Linked DNA regions of Homo sapiens: region 1 is linked to region 2. Evidence: promoter capture Hi-C in 16 types of primary human blood cells and fetal thymus (Javierre and others, 2016). All regions are on one chromosome and are shown on one strand. The core of a region is centred on a gene start or on the middle of the fragment in contact, and the rest is flanking DNA. Distances in the headings are between cores, read along the strand shown. Region 1 holds the start of LTV1 (LTV1 ribosome biogenesis factor). Region 2 holds the start of SHPRH (SNF2 histone linker PHD RING helicase).

Region 1 (6,805 bases), core at 2,155-4,654, 2.1 Mb after region 2:
TTATAAACACGTACTATCATTTGTCCTGAAAGAGAAGGTATTAAAGTGGACCGAACATTTGTTTACAAGACAGGAATGTTATTATCATCCACTCATTCTGTTTGCTTATGAGTAGCCTGCAGCTTTTACAAAAGTGTTAAAGATCTGAATATTCCACAAAAGTTAAGTCCTATCTTAGAACAAGAGTTTATGATCCTGAAAACAGTTATGTTGTTAACATGTAGAATGTCAGCTGCTTTTCTCCTATTGAAAAGTGCTGTCTAACATGGCCATGTCTATCAATCAAAAGTTCTGAACCTATAAAAAGGCTGTTACTGTTGACACCTGCCACCAGAGAAGACGTGACCTATTCTCTCCTGATGGTATACACATGCATACACATATATAATTTTAAGTGGAGGCGTGGTCTATCTTTGTGCTCTTCATACGGACACCATTTCTTGCCCCAAACAGATATCTTGATTCAAAAATGATTTCTTCACCTCACTCCCACAATTAAATTGCTGAAAAGCCTTACTGGAATTACTAGCGTTTCTTCTTTCTCCTCTCTCCTGTTGTGTGCACTGAAGGTACTTGAGGGAATAAGCTCTGAAGGCCCAGATGGTTCCTTCAGGTGCTGCAGGTAGTCATAGTCGTCATCAAAGAACACTCCATACTTCCTCTGTTCTGCTCGCCTTTCTTCATTGTCTATCTATAAACGAAATGGAATTAGTACTTTCTTCACTATCTATAAACAAAATGGAATCAGTAAGCCTTCCAAGGATAAGGCATGGGAATATTACAATGAGTACAGCTTTCCAAGTAGGAGGCAGATGGCACATGAACATTTTGGCTGATGGGAAAAAGACAAAGAATTCTTGACAAACAGGAAATGTACAGCTTCAAAACCAGAGTGCTACGTAACATTAAAATGGAATGAAAACATTCATGCTTTTAAAAGGGCAATAAAAATAAATAACAATTGCTCCTTCCACTAGACATTTCTGTGCAACATTTTGAGTCAAGAAACAAACATACAATTTATTTTATCATCTATTTGGAGGGTTATAAGAAAAGACCTGGGGGGCCAGGTGCAGTGGCTCATGCCTATAATCCCAGCACTTTGGGATGCTGAGGTAGGAGGATCACTTGAGCCTTGGAGTTCAAGACCAGCCTGGGCAAAATAGTGAGACCTCGTTTCTACAAAATAATTTTAAAAATCAGCCAGGCCAGGTGGCGTGTGCCTGTAGTACCGGCTACTCTGGAGGCTAAGGTGGGAGGATCGCTTGAGCCCAAGAGGTAGAAGTTGCAGTGAGCTGAGATGGAGCCACTTTGCATGCCAGCCTGGGAAACAGAGATTTGGGCGCCTTGAAAGGTAAGTACAATTTCTTGTATTTATATGCAAAAAAACCCTTCTCAACATACAACAAAACTGGCTTTACTGAAAAGCTAAACGTGGCCCATGTCCCCCAGTACTCTGTTTCCCAACACTCTGTTTCATAATATCTACACTTAATAAGTGTTGTGTAACATTAAGAGTCTTAATAAGTAGAGTCTAACATTAAGTCAATCTTTACCAGGCTCCCTTGCAAAGTTCCCTGAGCTAACCAAGGAGCTCAGATATTTTACATTTCCTAAGATGAGCAAGCAGGAGGCAAAATGCAGTTTGCGGTTATGAAACGGCAGGATCTTAGAGAAAGCACAGTTTGAGCATATATCGGTGCCCTAAATAACATCATGCCGCATTGTAGCTGGTGCTTTGGTAAATATTTACCATTATTCTACAAGATTTGCTCGTTTAAACATCTCAAATAAAGATCTTTGTCTTCCCAATCAAAATAATGTGAATGATGTAAAAATCACCAATTGTACTGAAAATTAACTTATAGATTATTTCCCAGAATATCAGTTATCTGAGAATAACAGCTGGCTAACAATTTATTAAAAACTATTAACATAGCAAGGCGTGGTGGCTCATGCCTGTAATCCCAGCACTTTTGGAGGCCAAGCTGGGAGGACTGCTTAAGTCCAGGAGTTCGAGACCAGCCTGGGCAACGTGCTAAGACTCTATTTATTTAAAAAAAAAAAAAGAAAAAAAAAACTATTGTCTACCTACAAACTGACTGGCTAAAGAACAGGACCTACTTTTTGTGTGGGCAATAGAACCCTCTGGGGTGCACTCTCATCTGCTGCTAAAGGATCTCGTTGGCTCCGGTGGACCAAGTGAAAAGACACAGCTTTCTTCTTCTCTATAAAGGGCTTTTTCTTCCTGTGAGGCTTCAAAGGAACAAAATCACAACAATTAATTAAAACAGAACAAAAAGACGGAGAATAATTCCATAGTCCACACATGCATCTTTAGTAGTCATGTTAAAGATACTTTTTAAAAATCTACACTTCTAGGGCAGGCAACATCAGCTGTGTTCTGCAGAATCCATACTTAACCTTCCTTCAACAAACATTCCTTGAGCACCTACTTTGTGCCAGACCTTGTTATGGGAACTGAGAATACAGAAGTGGGAAAGTCAGATAAAGTCCCTGTTCTTAGCAAGAAAATCAAGATAATTTCCGGTGAAGAAAATATAAGACAGTGACGTGAAAATGCCTTAAAAGCTACTTTACACTGGCTGCTCAGGGAAGGCCCCTGGCCGACTGAACTAGAATGACAAGAAGCCTGCCACAACATAATCTGGAGTAGACAGCTCCACACAGAGCATCTACCAACCAGTAAATAAAATCACGACACAAACAGCTAAAGTTTAATAAGATCCATCACCTCTTTCTACATTCTTACTTCGCTATTCAATTTTGATTCTCTAAACTGGGAAACCAATTAAGTGGCTTTACTTTGGGCCCAACCTTATGCTCTCCCACAAGTTCCCTTTCTCAGAGGAAACAGACAGGCAGACACCTGCCACTCCAACGCTGAGGGAGACCAGCAGCTCCCTCTGCTCGACCCCAAGAAGCACAGGGTTGCGCGTTTGTGTCGGCAGTCACCAGCTTTTAGTTAACCGAAATCACGCAGGGCTGCAGGCTCCCAGGGATAAAACAAAAAGGCCATTCTCCTCTCCGGGCCACATCCCAGGGAGGCTCGGCGGTGGGAGACTGTAACTTGCAAAGAATGCCCACGGTGGTGACGTTGGCCCATTTCGGGGTACCGTGCCGCAAGCAGCCTCTGGCATGACCCAGACCCGGGCCGCAGTAGCCAAGGTATTACCGGAAGCAGCCTGGCCTCTGCAAAACCACAGCGCTCGGCCGCCGAAACAAGCAAGGCTTGCTCACCATGCTGCAGCCGCGCGGCGCTCACCCCCAACAGGGGCGGCGATGACACCCTCGAAGTCCGGCGGGGAGACCAAGGTCCAGCTGAAGGCCGCTTCTGTAGGCCTCACCACACGTGCAGCCCCAGGACCCGGCGATAACGTCACCCAGCCGGCCGTGGAAACGGACCAATCGCCGAGGAGCTGATGGGTCGCGACCGGAAGTTACATAGGCTCGCTGCGTCTCCACGATCGCGAGAAGCCACCGGGAGGTGGGGCTAGCTCGGCTCCCACCCCTGGGCGGGCTGTACTTTTCCGGCCTTTAGTCTCCCGCCGGGCAAAGGGAATCGTGGGGGTCCTTAACGTTGAGGCGCCACAGAGGGGTTTCTGCTTGTGGACGAACCTTTTATAGCTCCCTCTACGGAGACCAGAGGGGACGAATCTAGCATCCCCCTTGACTTGTGTCCCTTACCTATTCCCAACCATAAAAAACAAAGCCGCGGACACGGAAGGGAGGCGACCACCCCGCTGGGGTGCTGGGGTCGCCAAGTTTCAGGTTCCCTCTCCGGGTGGGGGCGGAGTCGGTTGCCGTAGCAACGGAGGCTGGGGCCTTGCCTTTATAGACTGCATCAGACTTGATCAGGTTATATTTTCCACTGTTTCATGAACTGCTTTCATCTGCCCTGTTAACCAAACCCCCGAGACTCTGTTAACTGTAGAGGCATTTGAACTAATAAAATATATTCAGAATCTCTGGTGTTTGAATGTTAACTTTCTCCCCCTGTTTAAACAAATAGGCTATAAGCACGCATTCTTAGGAAGATTTCAGGCCGGCGTTGGCGTACTCACATAGCTTTTCTTGGACGAAAGTGTGTGGTAAATGCAGTCACTTTCATCAGCAGACCTTTTTTTCAAATTTGTTTCCCCAACTTCCCAGTTTCTGGTGACCTCTCAATGAATGGCTTACCCTGGATTGTGTCTTTATGCCGTAGGCATTATCACTGTAAGTATTTGTGGAGTATTATTCTTTTATTACAGTAAAAATTATAGAAATAGGCCAGGCGCGGTGGCTCATGTCTGTCATCCCAGCACTTTGGGAGGCCGAAGCGGGTGGATCACCTGAGGTCAGGAGTTCAAGACCAGACTAGCCAACGTGGTGAAACCCCGTCTCTACTAAAAATACAAAACTTAGCCAGGTGTGATGGCAGGTGCCTGTAATCCCAACTACTTGGGAGGTTGAGGCAGGAGAATAGCTTGAACCCGGGAGGCAGAGGTTGCAGTGAGCTGAGATCATGCCATTGCACTCCAGCCTGGGCGACAAGAGCGAAACTCTGTCTCAAAAATATATATATATAGAAATAATTTAGGTTAGGACCATAAAACTTGTCTTAGGATATTGCTTTGTAACAGAGATAATACATAGCACTCCTATGTGCCAGAGATTCGTTGTTATTATTCATTATATAGAATTAAAAGATCCAAGGGGGCAGTTTTCATTTCCTTTCAATCAGTTGTACTTACTGCTGTATCATCAGGGGCCTGATGCATGGGGCATATATGCTCAGTAAGTATTTATTTAAATGAATTAATGTTCTGGCACTTTATCTGAATCATCTCATTTCATCCTCACTGCAACACTATGAAAGAGACGCAATTATCTTCAGCATCTTACAAATCCTAAAAATGAGGCAAGAGAAATACAAACTAAGTACTAAGCCCCCCAGCTGACTGAACGGACTCCCTTTTGGCCAAGGGGACCCAGAGTAACCTTGAAAACTGAGTTCTTGCTTTGCCTTGTTATATCCCCTCCCTCACTAACCAGGATCAGGCTTTCTTCCCTAAGGGATAAATAGAAACCATCCCTTTCAAAAGACTCCACCACTGATATCAGCCTGTTGCTGCCCTCCGTTTTGTGCGTAACAGACTACCCACTATGGAATGGTTCTGGCCAATCTACGGAGCAGGCACAGTAAGGGTTTTATTGGCCTCTACTTCACCTTTTGACATCAGAGGCTGAAAACTCTTCAGATCATGCTGATGCCCCATTGTTTGTACCTAGGACCCATGAAGGGGCAATGAAGCTCAATTGCACATGTACATGTTTCTCCTTTCATAAATATTCATGATTCCTCCTATAGCTTATTAAATATGTATATTCTGCCACCCTGCTTCCTCTCACTTTGTCCCTCCCTCAGAATGTATGTTTTTGGCTTCAGGCTGGAGGCTACGCTTCCCAGCCTGTCAGGCCACTCTGCAGGCTGAAACCCTTATGCACCTCATCGTTCTTTAGGTCAAAAGCATAAGAAAGTTACCTTCTGATATGGTTTGGCTGTGTCCCCACCTTGGTTTGGTTGTGTCGCCACCCAAATCTCATCTTGAATCATAGCTCTCATAATTCCCATGTGTTGTAAGAGGGACCCAGTGGGAGATAATTGAATCATGGGGGCAGTTTTCCCCATACTGTTCTCATGGAAGTGAATAAGTCTCATGAGGTCTGATGGTTTTGTAAGAGGTTTCCCCTTTCACTTGGCTCTCATTCTCTTTTGCCTGCTGCCATGTAAGACATGCCTTTCGCCTTCCACCATGATTGTGAGGCCTCCTTACCACTTGGAACTCTGAGTCCATTAAGCCTCTTTTTCTTTGTAAATTACCCAGCCTCCGGTATGTCTTTATCAGCAGTGTGGGAACGGACTGATACCCTTTCTTAAGGTCATATCACTAGTAAATGGCAGAGCAGAGATTTAAACCTAAGGAGCCTAACTAGAGCCTGGCCACCTAATCATGTTGCTTGTTTGTTTTTTTCTTCTGAGTAATATTCTGCTTTGTTTTTTCTGAGACAGGATCTTGCTCTGTCAACCAGGCTGGAGTGCAGCGGTGTAAACATGGCTCACTGCAGCTTGACCTCCTGGGCTCAAGCAATCCTCTAACCTCAGCCTGCTGAGTAGCTGGGACCACAGGTGTGTGCCACTATGCCCGGCTAATGTTTTTATTTTTTGTAGAGATAGGGGTCTCACTGTGTTGCCCAGACTAGTCTTGAACGCCTGGACTCAAGTGAGCCTCTCACCACAGCCTTCCAAAGTGTTGGGATTACAGGCCACTGTGGCCAGCCTGCTTACTTTATATATTTGTCATTCTAAACACTAAACACACAGTGCTAAGCACTTTTTATTCATGATGTCTAATTCCCTCAGCAAGCCAGTGAAGTACAATTAAATGACACTAAACCAATCTTGCAGATGTGAAATCTGAGGTTCAGAGAATTGAAGTTATTTACTTAAGGTCACACAGTAAGTAGAAAAGCCTAGAAGTGTAGTCCATCAGGCTTGTTTAGGAAGGCCATTCCCTTATCCATATACTATACTACCTCCCTGAGGCAGTCAACCAGCAAATTTTGTTCATCCTGCTTTCTAAATATCCACATGTATCACTTCGTTATTCATTTTATCAAATTTATCATTTTAAACTCAAGTCACTTTCCTGTATAAAATCCTTCGATGGGCCAGGCGTGGTGGCACACACCTGTAATCCCAGCACTTTGGGAGGCCAAGACAGGCGGATCACCTGAGGCC
Region 2 (7,579 bases), core at 519-3,018:
CCTCTGCTTGCTTCACATTTTTCTGCTACAGCTTCATCACCTCTCTCAGCCTTCACAGAACTGAAAAAAGTTAGGGCCTTGCTCTGGATTAGGCTTTGGCTTAAGGGAATGCTGAGGCTGGTTTTATCTTTTATTCAGGCCACTAAAACTTTTTCCATATCAGCATGAGGCTGTTTCGTTTTCTTATCATTTGTGTTTTCATTGGAGTAGCACTTTTAATTCCCTTCTAGAACTTTTCCTTTGCATTCACAACTTAGCTAACTTTGGTACAAGAGGCCTAGCTTTTGGCTTATCTCAGCTTTTGACATGGCTTCCTCACTAAATTCCTTCGGTTTTCGATTTAAAGTGAGAGATGTGCCACCCTTCCTTTTACTTGAACACTTAATAGTCCATTGTAGGGTTATTAATTGGCCTAATTTCAATATTGTTGTGTCTCAAAGAATAGGGAGGCCTGAAGAGAGGAAGAGAGACAGGCGCCAATAGTGAAGCTTTCAGAACACACACAACATTTATTAAGTTTAGCATCTTCTATGAGCAGAGTTTGTAATGCTCCCAAAAAACTACAATAGTAACATCAAAGATAACTAATCATAGATCACCATAACAGATGAACAGCAAGTGAACACATGCTGCTTGAAAAATGATGCTGACAGACTTGCTTGAGTAAGGTTGCCAAAAAACTTCAATTTATAGGAAAACATATTATCTGCAAAGTACAATAAAGGGAAGCAAAATAAAAGGAGGCGGGGATTTGCTTATGGAAACAGCTTCGTATCTGTGATAAAGGAATATACTAAGTAAAATATGGACTACCCTGGACTGTCTAACACAACTACAACCGATATTCACTTGGACAAGAACTTAGTTCAAGTGCTTCTGTGGTCACACAACCCAAAAGGCCTCCACAGCAGAAAAGCTGCTATTAGGTACTCACTAACTAAGTACTGAGTCCCCAGTGTTTCCTGAGGGTTATTTCACAGGCTCCTGACCCTGAAGCCTCTCAGAGTTATTCCAACATTAAGGTCACTTCTATGAGGAAGAGGTGAGAGGAAAAAAGACCAATAGTGGAAGGCCAGCTTCAGCGCAACACATGTATTTAATAGTTTCTCTCATCTTTGAATATTTATTCACATTTCCCTTTAAAGTCTGTTTTTGAGGGGGAGAAGCTTTATTCGTACCTACTTAGTGGCTGCTTTATAGCAGTAAAATAGATGCTTTTGCAGAATTCTTTTCTGCTTTTCTTTTGTGAGACGGAGTCTCATTCTATCACCCAGTGGGGAGATGTCGGCTTACTCAATCTCTGCCTCGCAGGTTCAAGCATTCTCCTGCTTCAGCCTCCCGAGCAGCTGGGACTACAGGCGGGTACTACAGGCGCGCACCACAACGCCCGGCTAATTTTTGTATTTTTAGTAGAGACGGGGTTTCGCTATCTTGGCCAGGCTGTTCTCCAACTCCTGACCTCAGGAAATCCGCCCGCCTCGGCCTCCCAAAGTGGTGGGATTACAGGCGTGAGCCACCGCTCCTGGCCCCTGCCTTTTTATTAGAGATACAAATCACACACGCCCTTCGCTTCAAGGGGAGCCCCGCCCCCTACTTCGGGCATTCGGCCATCCTGTGTTCTCTAATGGCGTGGGGCAGAGCTATCGCGAGACTCCACTGTATCCTCAGCAAGTTTTTAACAGTGTGAACTTGCGCAGAAGAGACTCATGAAGCCAGCGCAGGAGAAAGGGGGCGGGGTGCTCTGACGAGCGCGTTCGCCTTGACCCCACGCTACAGCGCGCGCCCGGCAGCTAGGCGCTGTGGTTTCTGGGTCTCCCGGGGGACCCCTACACGTTCCGGCAAAAAGCGCTCGTGCCCACCTCAAGCCCATGTTCGGTGGGTGGCGAATGCGTGCCCGTGATCTGCTGGGTCTGTAGAGGAGCGCAGGCCTGGTGCAAACAGACTCAAGAGGCTCGGAGAACCAGCTTGGGTAGGCGCTTGGGTGATGGAAGGTCAGGGGTCAGAGGTCGGGAGGGAGGGAGGGAGGTGGTCTTTGGCCTCCGGGACCAGGGAGGGAGGACGCTGGTTGTCCTGGAGCCCGGGAAGCTCAAGGGCTGAGAGGGAGCCGCTGCGCGAGTCTTCCCCACCTCTTCCCGATCCCGGACTAGCGAACTTCGGACCACCACGTCCCTCCGGGGATAAAGTGGGGTCGTGGGAAAGGAGGCTGTGCTTCTCCTCATGCACTGGGGCCTGCGGTGTTTGTCTCGAGCGTCCAACACACTAGGATCCGGGAGTCCGTCGTCACGCTCCTTGGCCTCGCGGTCGCTTGTTTGCTCGGCCTGCTGGGAGCGATCCGGCGCTGACAGCCCCGCTCAGACTCCGGGAGCCGCTTGTGGGTCTTTCGGAAGATAACTGAGTGGGTACCGTGCGCCGCAGATCTACCCCCGGAGGCTGGAACTGGGTCGCCGCCTCCCTTCTTTGTGCGCGGCATTGTATTAGTAAAAGGGGAGGCAGAGGTTTCTCAGTCCCACTCAAAGTTCTCCGTTACCTTTGGAGCCAGATTAATTACATTCGAATTCAGAACCACTCTTTGACATTGTACAGTTTGACTGGTAGTTGCTATGTTTATGAACGAAGATAGGGTGTTATTTGATGATTAATAGTCACTGTATAATGATCAGTTAAATAATGACCAGGAAGCTTGTGCCCTTTTTCCAAGTAGTTTGACATTAGCACGAGGTAGAAATCCGAGATGTTTGATGCCTTCCAACTTGTACTTAAGGAACTTAAGGAACTTGGGGCTTTTTCTGAACAAAATAAGATAAAGTTATTACTGTTACTTTAAATTATTCCAGTGGGCATTAGTAGGAATGATGAAACTCTTGAATAGAAACGATCCATGATATCTCTACTGTCACAAAAAAGACTATTTAGTTTATGATTAGTAAACATGCTGGAGACAGAGCAGTCCTGAGCAGTATTGTAATGATTATGTCTGTGCTCGATAACCTGCACTTTCTAGAGCTTTAAAGGACCAGTTAACCAGTAAGCTGGCAATTGAGAATAAAATAGTTTACTTTTGAGAGATGCTCTTGTATATCCTCTTTGTCCACCCGAAAGGAGCTGGACTTACAGAATTATTAAAACAAAACTTTTATTATTAAGAGTTTAGGCCAGTAAGATTTAGGGGAAACAATTTGCTGGTGAAAAAGCTTCTTATGAGGGCATTTTTAAAGTTTATGTAACTAGCATATTTTAGCATTCAGTAGAAGAAAATACTCTCACCTTGCTGGAATTATTTCTACAGAAAAGGAAAAGATTATGTTAACCCTGGGTCATTAAGAGCTTCCTAGTACTTAGTAATGAGTGGGCTTCATTTCCATAACACAACATTTTGGACAGGAATATGGCAAGTATGTAATCCTTTTTGCCCTTAATAGCCTAAACCCAGATCTACCATGGATTTGTTGTAATTCAAGATTTGTGTGTATCTTTTAAAGAGGAAATAATATTTTGGAGGGAAAAAATGTGAATTTAAGTTGTGTTATTCATTTGTTGGATTGTCTTAGTAATGTAACATTTTATGTTTATTTTTCTAGCATTCCATCCTTGTTTTCTGTTAAAGATACAGTTCAGGCAGTTTTCCCTGCCTCGTTCTAGTATTTCATTTTTCTCAGAAATACTAGTTTCATATTACCTATAGTCTTCTAGAATGTGGATAAGAGAGACTTCTCCAAAAAGAAATAAGAGTAAAGTATCGTTAGGTCCTCAAAAGGAGGGAATACATCCACGGAATTAGAGATCTTTGTTTCACCCTTTTTGTATGTCTTTACTTCCTAGCACTGACCTGGCATTGGGAGTACAACACTGAATAGGATACTACTCCTGCCCATCTTTCAAAGTGAACACTCTAGCAGTTGGGATCGAGGAGAGAGAGGCCCTTAACTCAGCTTCTCTAGTCATGGAAGCCTTTCCAGGGAAGATTGGGATGGAGACAGGCATAAAAGCAATTCAAGCAAAAGGCTTTTATATTTAAATACAAGACAGTAAAAGTGCGGTCCATATAGAAAACTTCACATAATTACGTTTTACCCAAACACTGCTAATTAAGGAGGAGGAAGAAGTAGTTGTGACTGATAAGGTATGAATAAAACCAGAAGAATATGGGATGTGGTTAGATACAGAATTTCACCAGTACTTGACTTACTAGTTGCCAAATTGCATTTTAGTCATAAGTATATTTGACCAAATACTATTTTCTTTGGTTCAAGAAGTTAACCCTGAATAGAGATTTCCTTAAGTAAAGACTCAGTCAAAACCAGGAGCTTTTTGTTTGGTTGGTTGATTTTTGATCATGAATGTTTACTCAGTTAAGAACTGGACAAAGGGAGAGCATTGCTAGAAATTCTGGTGTTGACTTTTCTGCAGTTTATCATTATCACTGATAAGTACCTTGAGGCACTAATATTGGAAGAATCAGGCTGAAAGAATACATCTGAAGGAATGTGCAAATTATAATGGTGTACATAATTTAAAAGATACTGGATAGGTTTTACCAGAGAACAGAATAAATAGTTGAAGTAATGTTTTCTGGTTTGGTAATATGTCTGTTACAAAATTATTGTGGGAAACATGGCACATATTACTTCTCACATTCCATTGGCTAGGACTGGTCACAGGACCAAACCAAGCTGGGCAGTCATTTCTCAACTACTCTATACTTTGAGTGGAAATAAGTGGATTTTAGTTGGCAGCTGGTTATCCATAACAAGGTTTTTTGAACTTGGCTGCACCCTGGAATTTTTTAGGGATTCTAAAAAATAAAGGGAGTAGTGCCTGGGCCCTTCTCCAAGACATTCTGACTTAGTTGGCTCGACATCAGGATTTTTTTAAGTTCCCCTGGTGATTCTAATGTGCAGTCAAGTTTGAGAAGCACTAATCTGTGGTCCCCCATCCTGCGACATTACAGTTTGGTTATTGTGAAATGTGGTTTAGAGCAGGGGTCCCCACCCCTCAGGCCATGGACCGGTGCCAGTCCGTGGCCTGTTAGAACCGGGCTGCATTGCAGGAGGTGAGTTGCGGGCAAGCGAGCATTACCACCTGAGCTGTGCCTCCTGTCAGATCAACAGTCAGTAGATTACCATAAGAGCATGAATGCTATCGTGAACTGCATATGCGCAGGATCTAGGTTGTGCACTTCTTATTAAAACCTAATGCCTGATGATCTAAGGTGGAATAGTTTCATCCCTAAACAACCCCCTCTCCACTCCACCCCTCTCCTCCGGTCCATGGAAAACTTGTCTTCCATGAAACCCATTTATGGTACCAAAAAGGTTGGGAACTGCTGGTTTAGAGTGTTCTCAGGATGATGATAAGTAGCAACTACCATTTATGGAATACAGGCCAAATTTCTAGTACTGCTGTTGTACTTAAATTATTTCTAACCACAATCCTGCTATCATCCCCATTTTAGAGATGAGAAAATTGGCACAGAAGACTGGATAACTATTCCAATGCCACACAGTCAGTAAATGCCAAAGCTGGAATTAGAATGAATATAAGACTTCAAAGCATTGCATTCTCACCTTTAAGCCACATCGCTTTGCTAATGTGAGACTCTGCTAGACAGTTGCTTTTTGGGTTTTCAGAGTTAATGATTCCACAATAACCATGTTATTAATATTATTATGGTTAGTGTGATACATTGTGTAACTGGCCCAATTCCCTTCCAACACTCCCTCTACCCTTCCACCCCCCATATCCATGCTCTTTGCCATGTGCAGTTTCACCTAGTAAAGAGGTGTAGTATATTTCTTCACCACTTGACATTGGGTCCATGGATATGTCTTGCTTTGGTCTGTGGCACCTTAGTGGTTTTTAAGCACTTTGAAAACTACTTGTGTGATTGGATTTGCAGTAATACACCTCAACCATTGCCATAAAGAACATTCCTGAGTTACTTTGCTGATCCAAGGAGAGGGGATAGGAACTACATTAAGCAGAGCCAAACTGCTTTTCCAGAAACCTAGCCTAGATTAGCCTCCTTCAGCTAATGTGCAGATCTATGAGAATAAATGATTGCTATATCAAGGTATTGAGCTTTGAGGTAGTGTGTTACACAGCATGTTTGTGGCAGTAGTTAACTGATAAGCTACTATAGCATAACTTTTTAAAGTTCCTGCAGAGTGACCCACTTTCAGTATTCCAGCTTATGCTTTGAGGAAAACTGGACAAACATAAACACTTAGGAAATTAAGAGCTTTCTATATTATTCCACTAAGATAAGAGAGGATAAGATGCTTTAAAAGTAGTTGACCATAGCCAAGGATTGATTTTAATCCATCACCTGCACATTCATAAGTGAAGCACGGGCTAAGGGAATAGAATTCTCATGATTGACTTAAACAAGCACTGTCTGATACATAGACTTTTTGCAATTATGTGAATGCTCTATATTTGTGCTGTCCAGTACAGTAGCCACTAGTCACATAGCGCTACTGAGCACATGGGGCTAGTGAGACTGAAGAGCTGAGTTTATAACATTTAATTTTATTTATAGTCATGCATCACTTAATGATGGGGCTGTGTTTTGAGGAATGCATCATAGGCAAGTTTGTTGTGTGAACATCTTAAGAGTATACTTACACAAACCTAGGTGGTACCGCCAGCCTACTACACACCTAGGCTCTATGGTACAGCCTGCTGCTCCTAGGCTACAAACCTGTACAGTATATTCGGTACTGGATACTGTAGGCAGTTGTCACACCGTAGTATTTGTATATTTAAACATATTTAAATATAGAAAATGTACAATAAAGATATGGTATAAAAGATAAAAAATAGTACACCTTTGTGGGGTACTTAGCATGAATGCAGCTTATAACACTGAAGGTTGCTCTGGGTTAGTCAGGGAGTGAATGTGAAGGCCTGGGACATTACTGTACACTTCTGTAGACTTTGTAAACACTGTACACTTATGCTACACAAAGTTTATTAAAAAATAAAGTAATGCGGCTAGGCGCGGTGGCTCACGCCTGTAGTCCCAGCACTTTGGGAGGCTGAGGCATGCAGATCTTGAGTTCAGGAGTTCAAAACCATCCTGGCTAACACATGAAACCCCGTCTCTACTAAAAATACAAAAAAAAAGTTAGCTGGGCATAGTGGCAGGCGCCTGTAGTCCCAGCTACTCAGGAGGCTGAGGCAGGAGAATGGCATGAACCCAGGAGGTGGAGCTTGCAGTGAGCAGAGATCACGCCACTGCACTCCAGCTGGGCAACAGAGTGAGTCTCTATCTCAATAAATAAATAAATAAATAAATGCATTATGATGTTACAATGGCTATGATGTCACTAGTCCATAGGAATTTTTCAGCTCCCTTATGGAACCACTGTAATATTTGGTCCCTCATTGACCAAAATGTCATTATACAATGCATAACTGTATTGAAAGTTAAGTAGTCACATGCAGCCAATAACTACCTTATTGGATTTGCTTTGGCCAATAGTAGCTAGAAACTACTTCCTTGGAGGTGCCAAGGAAATCACTTCCTTTGAATCATAGGGCCACCTTGTTCCTAAATAAAGGTTCAGTCATCAGGGAA

What was found. Contacts are between HindIII fragments. The CHiCAGO score rates a contact against its expected background, and 5 or more counts as called.
Region 1: the fragment with the promoter of LTV1 here is called in contact with the fragment with the promoter of SHPRH in region 2 in 1 of 17 cell types (total B cells); the score reaches 7.0 in total B cells.

The regions. Positions count from the first base shown.
Region 1 is chr6:143,839,937-143,846,741 of GRCh38, reverse strand. LTV1 (LTV1 ribosome biogenesis factor) reads right to left here and starts at 3,404. Exons shown (of 11, transcript NM_032860.5): 1 at 3,262-3,404; 2 at 2,125-2,256; 3 at 518-691. The coding sequence starts at 3,264. RefSeq lists enhancers at 2,901-2,970, 3,161-3,370, 3,551-3,600. The HindIII fragment of the contact is 13,446 bases long and covers 1-6,805 here.
Region 2 is chr6:145,958,547-145,966,125 of GRCh38, reverse strand. SHPRH (SNF2 histone linker PHD RING helicase) reads left to right here and starts at 1,768. Exons shown (of 30, transcript NM_001042683.3): 1 at 1,768-2,395. RefSeq lists enhancers at 1,292-1,341, 893-1,880, 1,792-2,011, 2,122-2,251. The HindIII fragment of the contact is 1,513 bases long and covers 1,169-2,681 here.